5 separate regions of the Homo sapiens genome follow, and all the other regions are linked to region 3. The links are contacts of gene promoters, found by promoter capture Hi-C in blood cells and fetal thymus (Javierre and others, 2016). All regions are on one chromosome and are shown on one strand. The core of a region is centred on a gene start or on the middle of the fragment in contact, and the rest is flanking DNA. Distances in the headings are between cores, read along the strand shown. Region 1 overlaps ITPRID2 (ITPR interacting domain containing 2). Region 2 overlaps DNAJC10 (DnaJ heat shock protein family (Hsp40) member C10). Region 3 holds the start of PRKRA (protein activator of interferon induced protein kinase EIF2AK2). Region 4 has its middle 33 kb from the start of PPP1R1C. Region 5 holds the start of OLA1 (Obg like ATPase 1).

Evidence for each region. The method cuts DNA at HindIII sites, captures the fragments that hold promoters and counts their contacts. A CHiCAGO score of 5 or more calls a contact.
Region 1: a contact is called between a fragment that was not itself captured here and the fragment with the promoter of PRKRA in region 3, in 3 of 17 cell types (fetal thymus, non-activated CD4 T cells and total CD4 T cells). The highest score is 9.2, in fetal thymus.
Region 2: a fragment that was not itself captured here is called in contact with the fragment with the promoter of PRKRA in region 3 in 1 of 17 cell types (total B cells); the score reaches 5.0 in total B cells.
Region 4: a fragment that was not itself captured here is called in contact with the fragment with the promoter of PRKRA in region 3 in 1 of 17 cell types (fetal thymus); the score reaches 12.5 in fetal thymus.
Region 5: a contact is called between the fragment with the promoter of OLA1 here and the fragment with the promoter of PRKRA in region 3, in 1 of 17 cell types (total CD4 T cells). The highest score is 5.4, in total CD4 T cells.

What each region holds. Positions count from the first base shown.
Region 1 is chr2:181,892,993-181,895,692 of GRCh38, forward strand. The region is part of intron 2 of ITPRID2 (ITPR interacting domain containing 2); the gene reads left to right. Among named protein-coding and RNA genes, the nearest start is that of ITPRID2, 2.6 kb to the left of the region's middle. The HindIII fragment of the contact is 1,130 bases long and covers 886-2,015 here.
Region 2 is chr2:182,723,220-182,725,919 of GRCh38, forward strand. All of the region lies in intron 5 of DNAJC10 (DnaJ heat shock protein family (Hsp40) member C10), which reads left to right. Among named protein-coding and RNA genes, the nearest start is that of DNAJC10, 8.3 kb to the left of the region's middle. The HindIII fragment of the contact is 1,402 bases long and covers 747-2,148 here.
Region 3 is chr2:178,449,846-178,452,545 of GRCh38, forward strand. PRKRA (protein activator of interferon induced protein kinase EIF2AK2) reads right to left here and starts at 1,330. Exons shown (of 8, transcript NM_003690.5): 1 at 1,121-1,330; 2 at 397-566. The coding sequence starts at 1,185. It overlaps PJVK (pejvakin), which reads left to right and starts at 1,533. Exons shown (of 7, transcript NM_001042702.5): 1 at 1,533-1,924. RefSeq lists an enhancer at 486-1,060 and a silencer at 823-1,602. The HindIII fragment of the contact is 1,572 bases long and covers 191-1,762 here.
Region 4 is chr2:181,951,733-181,954,432 of GRCh38, forward strand. No RefSeq gene overlaps it. Among named protein-coding and RNA genes, the nearest start is that of PPP1R1C, 33 kb to the right of the region's middle. The HindIII fragment of the contact is 1,660 bases long and covers 550-2,209 here.
Region 5 is chr2:174,247,233-174,249,932 of GRCh38, forward strand. OLA1 (Obg like ATPase 1) reads right to left here and starts at 1,300. Exons shown (of 11, transcript NM_013341.5): 1 at 1,220-1,300. RefSeq lists a silencer at 1,086-1,605. The HindIII fragment of the contact is 2,463 bases long and covers 1-1,672 here.

The DNA.
Region 1 (2,700 bases), core at 201-2,700, 3.4 Mb after region 3:
TGTTTTGCTTTAGTTTTGGCATCTGTACAACTGGCACGGAATCATTTTCCTTTCAAATGTGTTTTAGACGAGTTTAATTTACCTAACTACACTAAATGGGCTTTAATTTTGTTTCTGTTTGGGGAGCTATTAAAACTAGCTAACTTTGTACTTATAGTTTACTTCTTGAACATGGAATTGTCAGATGGCACTGGAATTCTCAGGGAATAGAACTTTTAAAAGCATTCAGACTGCATAAATCTGTTTAATTACATGCTTTGGCAACTGGTACAAAAATGTTTGATAAAATACAGAGGAGATGAATCATGTTGCACGTAAATCTGACTACAGCAAAATGTACTTGTTTCTTATTCCACTTTGCTAGTTGTAAAATCAGGAATGTAGCCTTTAAACTTTTGTTGGTGTTTGCTTTCGAGCATATTTTTGCTTTCTCAATTTAGATTTTCTTAATATTTTGTTCAAATATTAGAGTTAGGGTAGTTTGTTTTGTTTTGTTGTGGAAAGTGATTCATATGCCAGTTTGCCTCCTCTAAAGACAGACAAGATATTGGCTACCATGATATTAATGCCTTGTTTTGATGAATCGACTGGAACCTTATTGAACACTCTTTATTACAGAACTCGTACCCTTTATTGGAAGTGTCATAGACCCTTCTGAAATATGATGACATATATGGAATAACTTCTGTTTAAAGATGCACAGAGGCAAATACACTGCTTGAAGTCCTTGGACCCCAGATTTACAATCTAGCTGTAAATCAATCTCCCAGTTTTCAGATAAGCCTTAGATATTAGATACTTCACTCAAAGTATGGATCAAGAAATTGTATTAATGTGCTATTGGTTCATTTAATTGTTAAATACTAAAATAGTCTATAATGTAAAAGCTTGAAATTTTGAATGTACATGTTCAAGACCTTTTGGGTGAGATCTGATAAAACTAGTATCTTTCAGGTTTCCACTTAGAAATGTGTTTGAGAAGTTGTTTTGTAACTTTTACTTAAGTCCTTTAAAGCCTCCAATCTGACTCTTTATTTAAATACAGTCCTAAGTACAGTATTGGCTTACTTTAGGTTTCTTAAAATAGGCTTAGCATTACAAATACATTTATAATGTTTTATTGTTTAAATTCAAGTGCATATTCAAAAGAATTTTAAAAATTAAGAACAAGAGAAGAATCACACTATAGTTTAATGACATATAGGATTTAAGATTGTATAAGAGATCCTATCAATTAGACAGTAAATAAGTGCATCTTTTTTGAGACAAATGCAGTAGGCAAATGTTGACATTCACCAGGGCACAGTCAATCCCTGACAATTTCAGAAGTTTTGTTGCCAATACTGATTTATGTGGGCAGATTCTGTAGTCTGCTGCTCCTTCTCTCATGGATTACCTTCTTGTTCCTACAGTTGCACCTATTCTACACAAGAGTGGCATTCATTTGTATCCAGGAAAGCTAGAACAAGTAGTCTTTTAATCTTGGCTATATTATCACAGATTCGACTTAGGATATGTTGCATCTGTATTTTTGTTTTAAATAACAACTCAAGTTCCTTCTCAGAGTTGGGCATCTATGTATTTTGTTTATTATGTACAAATGACCTGAAGACAGCATTTTACCCACTTGATAAGTTCTCAAATAGTCTTTGTTTCTTAGTGCCGTCCATATCCTGAATAAAGATACCGTGTTTTCTTTCCTTAAAGGGAGTCTTTATTTTGATAACCATTTGTGGGGGGACTAAGTAAAAACTGCTTGAATTAACATTTAAGAAATGGTAGAGATTTTGATAGAATTTGGAAGGGAGCAACTATAAAAGTAAGATATTTGTTTTCGAAGGAGGATTCCTGTTACTCTGCTTATCTACCATTTTCTGTTAGTGCATAGACCAGTAGAGACATCTGTGGACAGAGTAATACAATGTTTACATCCAAGAAAGTAGCCATCAGGGAAGGATGACTTTTTAAAGACATACATTAGAATTTTATTAAAATATATGCAAAAAATAGATTAAAGCTTTTATTAATATATTTATGGTAATTGCTTGTGATTCTTTTACGTTTCAAAAGCACTAAGTTTTAAAGAGCTGCCATTGTTAGTATACTTGTAGAAAGTTTTAACCTTTAATTGGCATTTCAGTAACATTTCCTTGAAACTGATATTTTCATGATTGATCCCATGTCTCGTGAATTTTTAACAGCTATAAATTGTTACTGAAGAAAGGTGTGCATCACAAAACAGACCCTCCAATATAAAACAATGTGTTTCTTACTATAACTTGGTTTCAGAGAATTAAAAGTGTTTATTTTTGTATTTGAAAAAAAGATATTTCTCTCATCTGTATTTGAACTACAAGAATGAAAAAATTTTAGCAATGGCTAATCTTAATGTTGATTCTCAAGTCAACTTTTTAGTAATTTTCAAAGTTAAATGAAGAATATATATATTTTTTAGCTTAAAAACAAAGCGAATCTCAAGCTTCTACATTTACATAAAAAGATAGTTGTTGGGGCAAGGGGGAGGCATTAGGTGATGCTCTGAAATGCTAGTGATAGATTAACAGATGAGGTTTAAGGAAACTATTGGGCCTCATTTCCAACTACTCTTCACTTTTTAATTTTATTAAGGTTAAGTTACCTATGACTGAAGATTTGTTTTCTTCTAATTCTGTTTTCTTTTTTGATGGAAGGGGTTGAGAA
Region 2 (2,700 bases), core at 198-2,697, 4.3 Mb after region 3:
ATTTTTAGTAGAGACAGGATTTCACCATGTTGGCCAGGCTGATCTCGAACTCCTGACCTCAGGCGATCCACCCACGTTGGCCTCCCAAAGTGCCAGGATTACAGGCATGAGCCACCACATCTGGCCAAGGGTGGCATTTTAATCTTATTTTCTACATCATGCTGGTGAGCTTCACATACAAAATAGCTGTTCAATGTGTTACTTTGTTAAAAGCCTTCTAGGTGAACACTTGAACATGTTCTAAGTGAATAGAAAATACATCTTTCCTGTGTTCTGCAAATAAGACAATTTGATTCATTTGGATTGTTAATAGAATTAATGCTCATGTCACAAGCTGGTAGAATCATAACTCTCGTGTGAGTTATATAAACCTATAGCTGTTCCTGTGTGGTTTTTATTGTCTCTCATCTCCTAATATATCAGTAAGTGTTTTGTGTACCAATGGTTCAGAAAACATCGGAATTACAGATAGAGGAACTGAACAAAACTTGCAAGCTTACTAATCCATGAGTCTACCTAGAATGAGACTTCACTGATAGTTATATTGTATATGGGTTCACACTTTTTCAGATGTGTCACTATGCAGAAAAGCTTAAGAACTGTTAATAGTTCATATAGAACCCCAAATGGTAGTTCAAGATAAATTGCAGCCACAAAACTTCAGAGATAATTCATAAATAATTAACCTTGCTTGATGAGAGGAATGAGCAGGAGCATTGTTGTGATAGAGAAGGACCCTCTAGTGAAGCTTTCCCAGGCATTTTTCTGCTAAGCAGATGTTATCATTTCTGGCTCTCTAGAAAGTCAACAAGCAAATGCCTTCTAAGCTCTTCTATTATATGCAGCATAGGTTAAGTAGGTTTAATCAATTCTGACAGCTACTGTAAACTCTGAAAGAATAAAATAAGAGACCTACATAATACAGTAAGGATTGCGGGGATTAAATTTAATATAAGCCCTAAATAAGACATTACCTTGGAAAATCACTTTATTTGAAAAGATTGACTTTTTTTTAACAATTCAAAACATTAATACATACTTGCTAAAATTATAGATTTGAACATGTGATATCTAGCCAATAGTGCAGTTTATATTTTATCTGTAAAATGACCTGATGCAAATTACAAATTTTACTCACTTAAAAAATTTAACATTGTAAAAATGTGCTTTCACATTCAAGATAAAAAGGCGAGGGTAATCTGCTTTTGGTTAAAGGATTTCCATATGATTCCATGTTAAAATTAGTTAATATTTTAAAATAAAAATTTCAGAAATTACAGTAAGACATTAAAACATGCATGGTATTCTAAATACGTGCAACTAATTCAGGCTAATTAGAAACAGGTACAGGACTCAGTGTTCACCTACATTTCAAGTATAAGATAGACCTGTGGGGAAAAAGTTAATCTGTACCTTACAGGCAAAGTAATTACATTTTACTTTGCTAATAGAAGCTGTTAACTGGAGTTGTATGTATATTAACAGACAGTAGCTGTAGTTGTATAGTTTAGAAGTGGAAAGTTGCATTTTGAAATGTAATAATTCTATTCTGGGTCACTGTTAGGCACAACATCCCATTGAGCTGTGATGATACAGTATTTAAAATATTTTAACTTTATTCTTATTACTCAGCAATCAGTGGGAACTTGGCAAATATGAGAAGTGCTCGATGAAGACAAAGTACAGGTGTACCTCATTTTATTACACTTTGATTTATTGCACTTCATAGATAATGCACTTTTTTTTCCTTAACAAATTGAAGGTTTTTAGCAACCCTACATCAAGCGAGTCTATCAGCTGAACGTGTTTCCAATAGCATGTGCTCATTTCATGTCTCTTTCTCACATTTTGGTATCCAAACTTTTTCATTATTATTCTGTCTGTTACAGTGATCTACAGTCAGTGATCTTTGATGTTACTATTGTAATCATTTTGGAGTGTGCCCATAGGATGGCATACTTAATTTTTGTGTCTATTCTGACTGCTCCCTCTTCCTTCTCCCTTTTCTCTCCCACTTCTTGGGCCTCCCTACTCCCTGAGATACAACATTACTGAAATTAAGCCAATTAATAACTACAGTGACCTCTTAAGTGTTGAAGTGGAAGAGATGCACATCTCTCATTTTAAATCAGAAGCTAGAAATGATTAAGCTTAGTGAGGGAGGCATATCAAAACCCAAGACAGGCTAAAAGGTAGACCTCTTTTGCTAGTTAAATTATAAATGCAAAGGAAAAGTTCTTCATGGAAAGTAAACGTGCTACTCCAGTGAACACACTAATGATAACACAAAACAGCCATACTGCTAACATAGAGAATGTCTTAGTGGTCTGGGTAGATCAAATTATCTACAACATCCCCTTAGCGAAAGCCTAACCAGAGAAAGACCCTAATTCTTTTCAATTTTATGGAGGCTTAGAGAGATGAAGAAGCTGCAGAAAAAAGTTTGAAGCTAGAAAAGGTTGGTTCATGAGGTTTAAAGAAAACAGCCATCTCCATAACATCAAAATACAAGATGAAGCAGCAAGTCCCGACATAGAAGCTGCAGCAAGTTTTCCAGAAGATCTAGCTAAGATCATTGATGAAGGTGGCTATACTAAACAACAAATTCTCAATGTTAATGAGACAGCCTTCCATTGGAAGAAGATGCTATCTGGGACTTTTTTTTCATGCCTGCTAACACCATATCCATTCTGCAGCCCG
Region 3 (2,700 bases), core at 80-2,579:
TTCTGGGGTCATGCCTCCTGGCATCCGCTATAATCTATGAAACTTCACAGTACCTACTGACCCAGCTATGACTGCTCCAAGAACCTTTCCTGCTTCCCTCTAATTCTAAGAAGAACCCTAGGAGGATCCTAGGGTATGAGAAGAGCCATGCAGGATCCAGCCATCCGGCTGGGTAACTTTTTAGTTTCTAAGCTTCCTTGGTATGTGGGGAAGAGAAAATTAGGAAGAGAATCAGATGCAGCTGAAAAGCCCTAACGACCTGAGATGAGAGGTCTCAGTTTCAGAGCCTGTTCCTCACAGCTGTCTGGCAAAAAGAGAACTTTTCCGAACTGAAAAGCAACACCAAGTATTGACTGCCAACCCACTCGGTCATCCAGGTTAACTGTGTATACAGACCTGTGCAGGTTATGTCACCAACGGTTACTCTGAAGGTGAAAGTGGGCACGTGTATTTGCACATCAGATCTTTCACATTCATAAACTGGGATGTTCTTGGTCTTCATGCCGTATTCGTGTAATACCTGAATCGGTGTTTTCCCTGGCTTAGCTGTTATCATCTTCCCCAAACTGCAAAAACCACAAAAAGGTGTGCTTTGCATGCCAAATTGGAGATTGAAGCAGAAGCGTAGAGGCCAGTTTTAACCGCCACCGACGGTGACGAGGGAGGCGCCGAGTTCCCCGGAGGCCAGGGCCAGAGCTGGCGAGGCTGGGGCGCACCTGTCTTCCGGCCCCGCTGCGGCAGTCACTCCGCAGGAGCAGGCGGGGTGAGCGAGGTCTTTAGAGAGAGCACTTGAATGCGGGTAGGAGAGATTCTCAACAGAACAGGGCTGGCAGCAGCGCCGCAGCCTCTCAGGGAAAACCTGACGATCCCTTCCCGGGCGCGCCGACCGAGCGTCACCTCCGCCCGCCCCGCGCGCCGCCAGGGACCACGAGAGGGGCGGGGCCCGGCCGCAGACCCCAACCCTCGCCGCCGAGAGGGCGGGGCCGAGCACCCACAGCCGCGGAGGCGTGGGCGCCGGGCACGGCTTTACCCAGAATGCCTCTGGAGGGCCGGCTCCCCGCGCCCCGGCCCTGCCGCCCAACGCTCCCGGCCCTGGGGCCCTGACTGCCCGCACGCTGACCTGAAGGTCCCACTGTCCTCGCGCTCCAGCGGCGGGGCCTCGGCGCGGTGCCTGCTCTGGGACATGGCGAGAAGGGACGGCTCAGCGGCTGGAGGAAGAGCGGTGCGGAGCGACGTGCTCGCTCCCCGGGTCGCTGGTCCCCGGGAGGAGCTCCAGCGCCGCCACCTCCTCCGACTCCCCCGCCTCCTGCTTGCGTTGCTCCAGCGAGGGGGCAGGCAGGGTGGGGGCGGAGCCTTGGTGCCGTAGCTCCGGCTACGCCCCCTCGCTGCTCCTCTGCGGGCCTCCGTCCCGGCCCAACTCCGCCCCTGTCCCTTCCAGGGTCCGCCCCCTTCCCGCCCGGCTCCGCCCCGCTCCCGCGTGGGCACAGGCATTGGGCTCCCGGGGGTTCTCCGCGCCCGCCCCTGCCGGCCCTGACCAGCCTGTAGTAACTGGCCCCTAGGCCGCAGTTCTTTGTCCTTAGCAGGAGGCCGTTTCTTGCCGGGAGAGAGGGATTAGAGGGATTGTCCGGCGTGGGTCTAGGGTCGTTGAGGCCTAAAGTTAAGCCTTTGTGGGGAGGACGGATTGGGGGCTGGGTCACTTTAAGAAAAAGATTCTAAAATTACGAAGGCAGAATTCCAGGGAGTCTCCCGGGCCTGGTCCTGAAGCTTGAGACCCCGGATATATACGCTCCAGGGGGCTGCGGTGCGCTCTTCGGGTCCCCGAGCCCTGTGTTTAGGAACACGCGGGGACGTCCAAACACCCGCTCCTCTCCCGCCGGGCGGGCTCCTTTGTCTTCTGGGCTTTCGTCGCGAGATGGAACGCTGGGTCAGTGCATCCCAGCAAAACACGTTAGGAGTAAACGAAGGCCTTTCCGGGGACCTGGGTAGTCGGTTGTAATGGCGTTTGCCTGGGATGCAGCACCTTTGGTGGGCCATTAGATGACGTGTCGCTTCTCCAGGGGCTTGCTAGGCACTAGCAGAAATGCTCCCCTGTGCTTACTCGGTGTTATGGAAGATTGCTTGCACAATGCTATTCGTACGAAAGGATATTATTAAAAGTGATTTATGGGCGGGCGCGGTGGCTCACGCCTGTAATCCCAGCACTTTAGGAGGCCGAGGCTGGCGGATCGCCTGAAGTAAGCAGTTCGAGACCAGCCTGGCCAACATGGTGAAACCCTGTCTCTACTAAAAATACAAAAATTAGCCGGGCGTGGTGGCATGCGCCTGTAATCCCAGCTACTCGGGAGGCTAAAGCAGGAGAATCGCTTGAACCCGGGAGGCAAATGTTGCAGTGAGCCGAGATCGCGCCACTGCACTCCAGCCTGGGCGACAGAGTCAGACTCCCTCTCAAAAAAAAAAAAAAAAAAAAAAGCGATTTGTTGTTTTGTTAGCATGTAAGCCCTGGATGCTTGAAACAAGTGAAAGATGTTCAGAATCTAATCAAATTATATCATCTGATGCTTTAATTAGAGCCTATTCTCTCTTCCTCTCCGTCTATATATGTATGTATATAGATTACTATCCATCACTGTTTTAATGGATATCTTATTGGAAGGGCTACATAGTCAGTATTTCACAATATATGAACTCCGCATAACACCT
Region 4 (2,700 bases), core at 130-2,629, 3.5 Mb after region 3:
TGTAGTCTACAAACTGTGGTAGTCTAATCTGGATACGTATAAGGTCGAGGAAGGGTTAGGGAAAGAGAAGTCTGGAAACACTGTGGGGCAATAGAATGGTAATTCTTTACTTTTTACCTTACTCCCTCTTCTGCAACTGCCTCTTATTCTTTGAGAAAAAAAGGAAGATATACTTTTCATATGATTTGGAAAGCAGAGATTATGTGCTAACATCTCACTTGGTATAGGGAAAAACTGCAAGAATTTTTTAGAGAGGTGGACCTAGTTTCAAATCCATTACTACTATAAGAATATACTATTTCTGAAACTCAATTTCCTTGTCTGTAGAGCAAAAAAATTACTCCATAGTACCACAGTGGAGGATAAATAAAATAAGATGAATATGATACACAATTATAAAATAACTGTGTGACCTTAAGCAAATTACAAATGTCATGTCTCTGTTCCTCAGTTTGCCCACCCCATTGTGTTGTCAATGACATGTTATATCACTGTTTGAAGGACTTTACAGCAAAAAAAGGTATTCTTATAAATGCTCAGTAGATGTCAAGCTTAATTTTGTATGTGTCCAAAATTAAACCTTTACATTTTAGTTACATAAAAAGGTCCTTTAAGTGAGGGTAAGAGAACATTTAAACTGAAAGTTATATATACTAGGCCTGAAATTTTTAATGGCCTTATTTAAAATGAATATAAAGGTACTTAAGGAAGGTAGCAGTTGTAGGCTTTCTTTTCTTAGGAAATCAATACTCATAAAACTCAAGGTTGGAAATGAGAATTAAAAACCACAGTGAGTTTATTTTAAAACATGTAGTCTGTCATCTTTATTTTCCCTTTGGATTACATAGTGTTTATACCCTGAGGTCTATTTATGTTGCTGCAACTCTTTCACTGACTTTGAAGTGAACTTTGTATGGTGCTAGAATCAGAGCACTAGGGCTTAGAGATCATGTATTCCAACCCTCTCATTTAAAAAGAGTAAATTAAGGTAAGAGAGTAAAGCGAATTTCCCTGATATCTTTGTTTCCTCTGAGATGTAAAAATCTCTGTTGTTCTTAACCACCAGGCTAAGTTCAGTGACAGCAAGAGTCATCCTAGTTCAGCCCCTAACATGGCCCCTGATCCTCCCCTTAACCTAGACAGTGCCTGGCACTTAGCAGACACTCCACTTATAGTTCTGGAAAAAAAGCACTTATCTCTGAGCAAAGTCTTTTACTCTCATTAGAAACTCTCTGGCATTCCTGGTATGGCTTAGGAGACTAATCACTGATAATAAATAAATAAATAAATAAATAAATAAATAAATAAATAATAAATTCCTGCTGTTCTTCTCCCAAATACATGCCTCATGGAGTTGCCTGCAGGAGAAAGAGTTCCACAGCAAATCAATACCTGCAATTTAAAGGATTCTACTCTTGCCAGGTGTGATGGCTCATGCTTGTAATCCCAGCACTTTGGGAGGCTGGGGTAGGAGGATTGCTTGGGGCCAGGAATTTGAAACCATCCTGGTCAATATAGCAAGACCCCGTCTTTACAAAAAAATTAAAAATTTAGCTAGGCGTGGTGTTGCCCACCTGTAGTCCCAGCTACTCAGGTGGCTGAGGCATGAGGATTGCTTGAGGGATTGCTTGAGCCTGGGAGGTCAAGGCGGAAGTGAGCTGTGATCGCACCACTGTACTCCAGGCTGGGTGACAGGGTGAGAGGCTCTCTCAAAAACAAACAAACACACAAAAACGAGGATTCTATTCTTGTAACTTCAAACCAATAAAAATAAGGATTCTACTCTTATAACTTCTCACCAGCAGATTCATTTAAAACCATTATTTCTTCTGTCCAGAGCATCCTAATACATGCAACTGCTCTCATCCAACTGGCAAGCACACAGATTTACTAGCAAAGTTTAGTACCTGTTGGTCAGAAGACTGCCTATTTCTTCTGGGTATCTCTTCAATGTTCCAGGAAACAAATTTCATTTATTCTTATAAGTCTGACTGTCCCAGACAAAGTTACTGTATGTACAAAAATCTGTGTATTTCTTTTGGTGTGATTCAGATGCAAGCAGAAATGAATTTTATTCATATTGTTATCTTTAAGACTGTGTGGGTTGGAGAAGGATTCATAGACAACAAAACAGGAAAAGATTAAGTCAAACAAAACAACTTAGTGGTTTTGTAATTTTGGAGGCTTTTGTCTGAAGGGAGATAGCTAAAGCTTGACAAAGGCTTCCTATGTGTGAGTAGAAGAGACAGCTCTTTTCCCTCTTCATTGGGGCAAGCACCATAGTAATTAGATTTAAAGGACACCAATAGACTTTTTTATTAGAACCAGATAACTTTCTGGTGTTTCTCAAATGAGAGAAAGGCACCTCCATGGAATGTCTTTCATCCGTTTTCAAATTCTACCAAGCCCAGTTCTTCTGCAAACTTCACCTAATGTATGTGTGATCTACAGCTGTGGTTTACAAACTGAATTCAGGTGGCCAGGCAGGGACCCCTCCCCCCGCGCCCCACTACCCGCTAACCGCCTCCCGCCACACACACACACACACACACACACACACACACCCCGCGCGCGCGCACACACACACACCCCACCCCACCACCCCGACCTCCACATACATTCCCCCGACCCCCTCCAGCAGTGAAGTCTAAGAGCACCGCGAAGTAATTTAAATTTTCGAGGGAAAGCACAGCGCCATCT
Region 5 (2,700 bases), core at 50-2,549, 4.2 Mb before region 3:
CATCAGGCGCGCAGCCTGTAATTCCAGCTACTCGGGAGGCTGAGGCTCGAGAACTGCTTGAACTCGGGAGGCGAAGGTTGCGGTGCGCCAAGATCACGCCACTGGGCTCTGCCTGAGCGACAAAGCTAGGCTCTGTCTTAAATAAATAAATAAATAAATAAAATATTTGTGGCACCAGGAATCAAAGATAAACTTAGAGTTTAGCTACCAATCTTCCATCCAGACTGCTCACAAAACACTTTATATCTTAACCTGATATATGGTTATATGAAAGAAAGCATTTGGAAGCAAGTACACAGAAGACAGTCAAAGAAAATTCCATTGTGGAACCACCAGCAGCCAAGTCACCCTTCACACCAAACCATTCCTCTATAATCTGGAATCTTATCTTTCCCATTCGCCCACAACCCCCATTTTTCACATAGATGAACACCCACCAGGTACTGGGGTCCTTCCACCAAGTCCCTCCCACCTTTGGCACTGAAGGTACGGCTCATCAGTCCTCATAAGCAACCTCCAAAATCTACATTATGGTTACTATTTCTAATGGTAAATTAATCGACGGAACCTTTTTATTTACAAGTCGAAACTTTCTCTGTCCCTTACTAGTTCTGTCTCCAAATCATGCGTGCAGAATTACTCCCACCCTTGGACTGCAAAGTGAAATCACAAAGACCGCTAAGCTCACGTCTCAGAAGCTGGGAACTAAAACTGTCCCAGTCTTCTGGCTGAGAGTTGTACCTCCTAGGACCACGCTGGGGCCCTGCCCTTGCAGTAGTATTCCAGCCTCTGATCCCTGACCCCGAGGGCCAGGAATTTCCCTTCTCAGCGTCCTGACACCTGTTCCTGGCCAACTCCCAGGCCTCCAAAGAACAGATACAGGAACAGCGCCTGTCGGGTCCTCTGGCCTACAGAGAGGTGGCCGGCAGCCCACCCAAAGTGGGCCCCACCCCCCATCCTCCTCTCCGGACTGGGCCACCGGGCGTCCTGGCGTCGGGAGAAGGCTTTCCCCAGGGCTTTCCCGCGTGAGGCGTAGGCCGATCTCCCGACGCGCGGCCTAGTCCGACAGCGCCTCATTCATCCACACATCCCCAAGCCACCCGCTGCCCTGGCCCCATCTTGGCCACTGGGCCCGGGCCCCGCGCCAGCCTCAGGGCAATGAGCCCAGGCGCCGAAGACCTGGCGGAGATCGCGCCCCCGGGCTCCCTGAGGGCCTCACCGTGCTCGGCCTGGGCGATGACACGGGGTCCCAGCGGCAGCGAGAGAAAGGTCCTGCCGGCAGCTGGAGGCGGGGAGGAAGGAGGAGAGAACGCAGGCCCGTCCCCTCCGCCGAGCGGCACGCACGACGGCGGCGACAGCGGCGGAACGGGCGGGCCGGGCGCCGAGCGGCACCTGCGCGCAGACCATGGGCCCCGCCCCTCCCCGCCTTGCCCGCGCGTCCCGCCCATTGGCCTAACCGGCCGGGGAGGCGGGAGTAGGGCGGGAGGAGCCCAGGGTGGGAGGAGCCGCGCGGCGGCAGGGAGCTGGAGAGGGGAAGGCGCTGGCTAGGCCGTTCCCGGGAGCTCTAGTCTTCCGCTTCGGCACGTGGGCTTCTCGGTTCTAGGTCTCCGCTTCCGTCTGGCTGCGCGGCCTGGGTTACCTGCTCACGTTCACTCGCGGGCCTACAGCCCCAAGCTTTCCCAGCTGGACTGCGGAGTGCCTTGGGCCCTGACTTCCCTCCGGGAGATCCGGGGCGTCTGAAGTCAGGCAAACAGCCACACCAGCCCCGAGGACCGCGTGGCCGCTAGCCCATCTCCCTTTTCTATAACTTTATTCGCTCAGTCTGTGCGGAGAGAAGCTGTTAACTAAAAGTTCTTGAAGGAAAAGGGGCTAAGGGAAACTTTGGTCTAGGGATTTCTTCCTCGCCTTATAGTTAAAGCGTCGCACACAGGTACTGGATCACAGAATGCGTTTAATTGAGCCAATTTCCCCCCTTTTCCTCTTGGTAGTTGAGAGCAGGGGCCTTTGAAATTTGGGAATTTCCAATCTGGATTTCGCCACTCATTGACTGTATGACCCTAGACAAATTAACTTCTCTGGACTTCAATTTCGTTCTGGATAAAATGAGGCTATTAAAACCACCTTATGAGGTTATTCGTGTGAGAATAAAATGAGACAATGCGTGTTGAGCTCATAACAACAGTACTCAGCACATACAGAAAAGGCTTGTGAGTAGTCGCTGTTGTTAATATTAGGATTTCATCCCATCTCACCCACATCATATCAATACCATGAGCGCCACTGGAGAAGGAATTCTTTCATTTAGGTCCTGGCCTTCAGATGTCATTCAGGTATTTGTTGTAATGAATATGATACCTGTCCAAAAATTGTGACACTAGAAGCTCCTTTTAAAGGGATTAGTTGCTATTAATATTAAAGGATGTAAATAGGTCGCCATCCCCATTTTACAAGTGAGGAAACAATATCAGAAAGGTTGATTAATTTGGATGAAGTCACACAACTAGTAAATGGCAGCAGCATATTTCAAACCACAATCTAACTGAAAATCTGGCCGTAATCCCAGCACTTTGGGAGGCCAAGATAGGGGGATCAGTTGAGCCTAGGAGTTGGAGAACAGCCTGGACAACGTGGTGAGACCCCATCTCTACCAAAAAACAAAAATTAGCTGGGTGTAGTGGCACATACCTGTAGTCCCAGCTA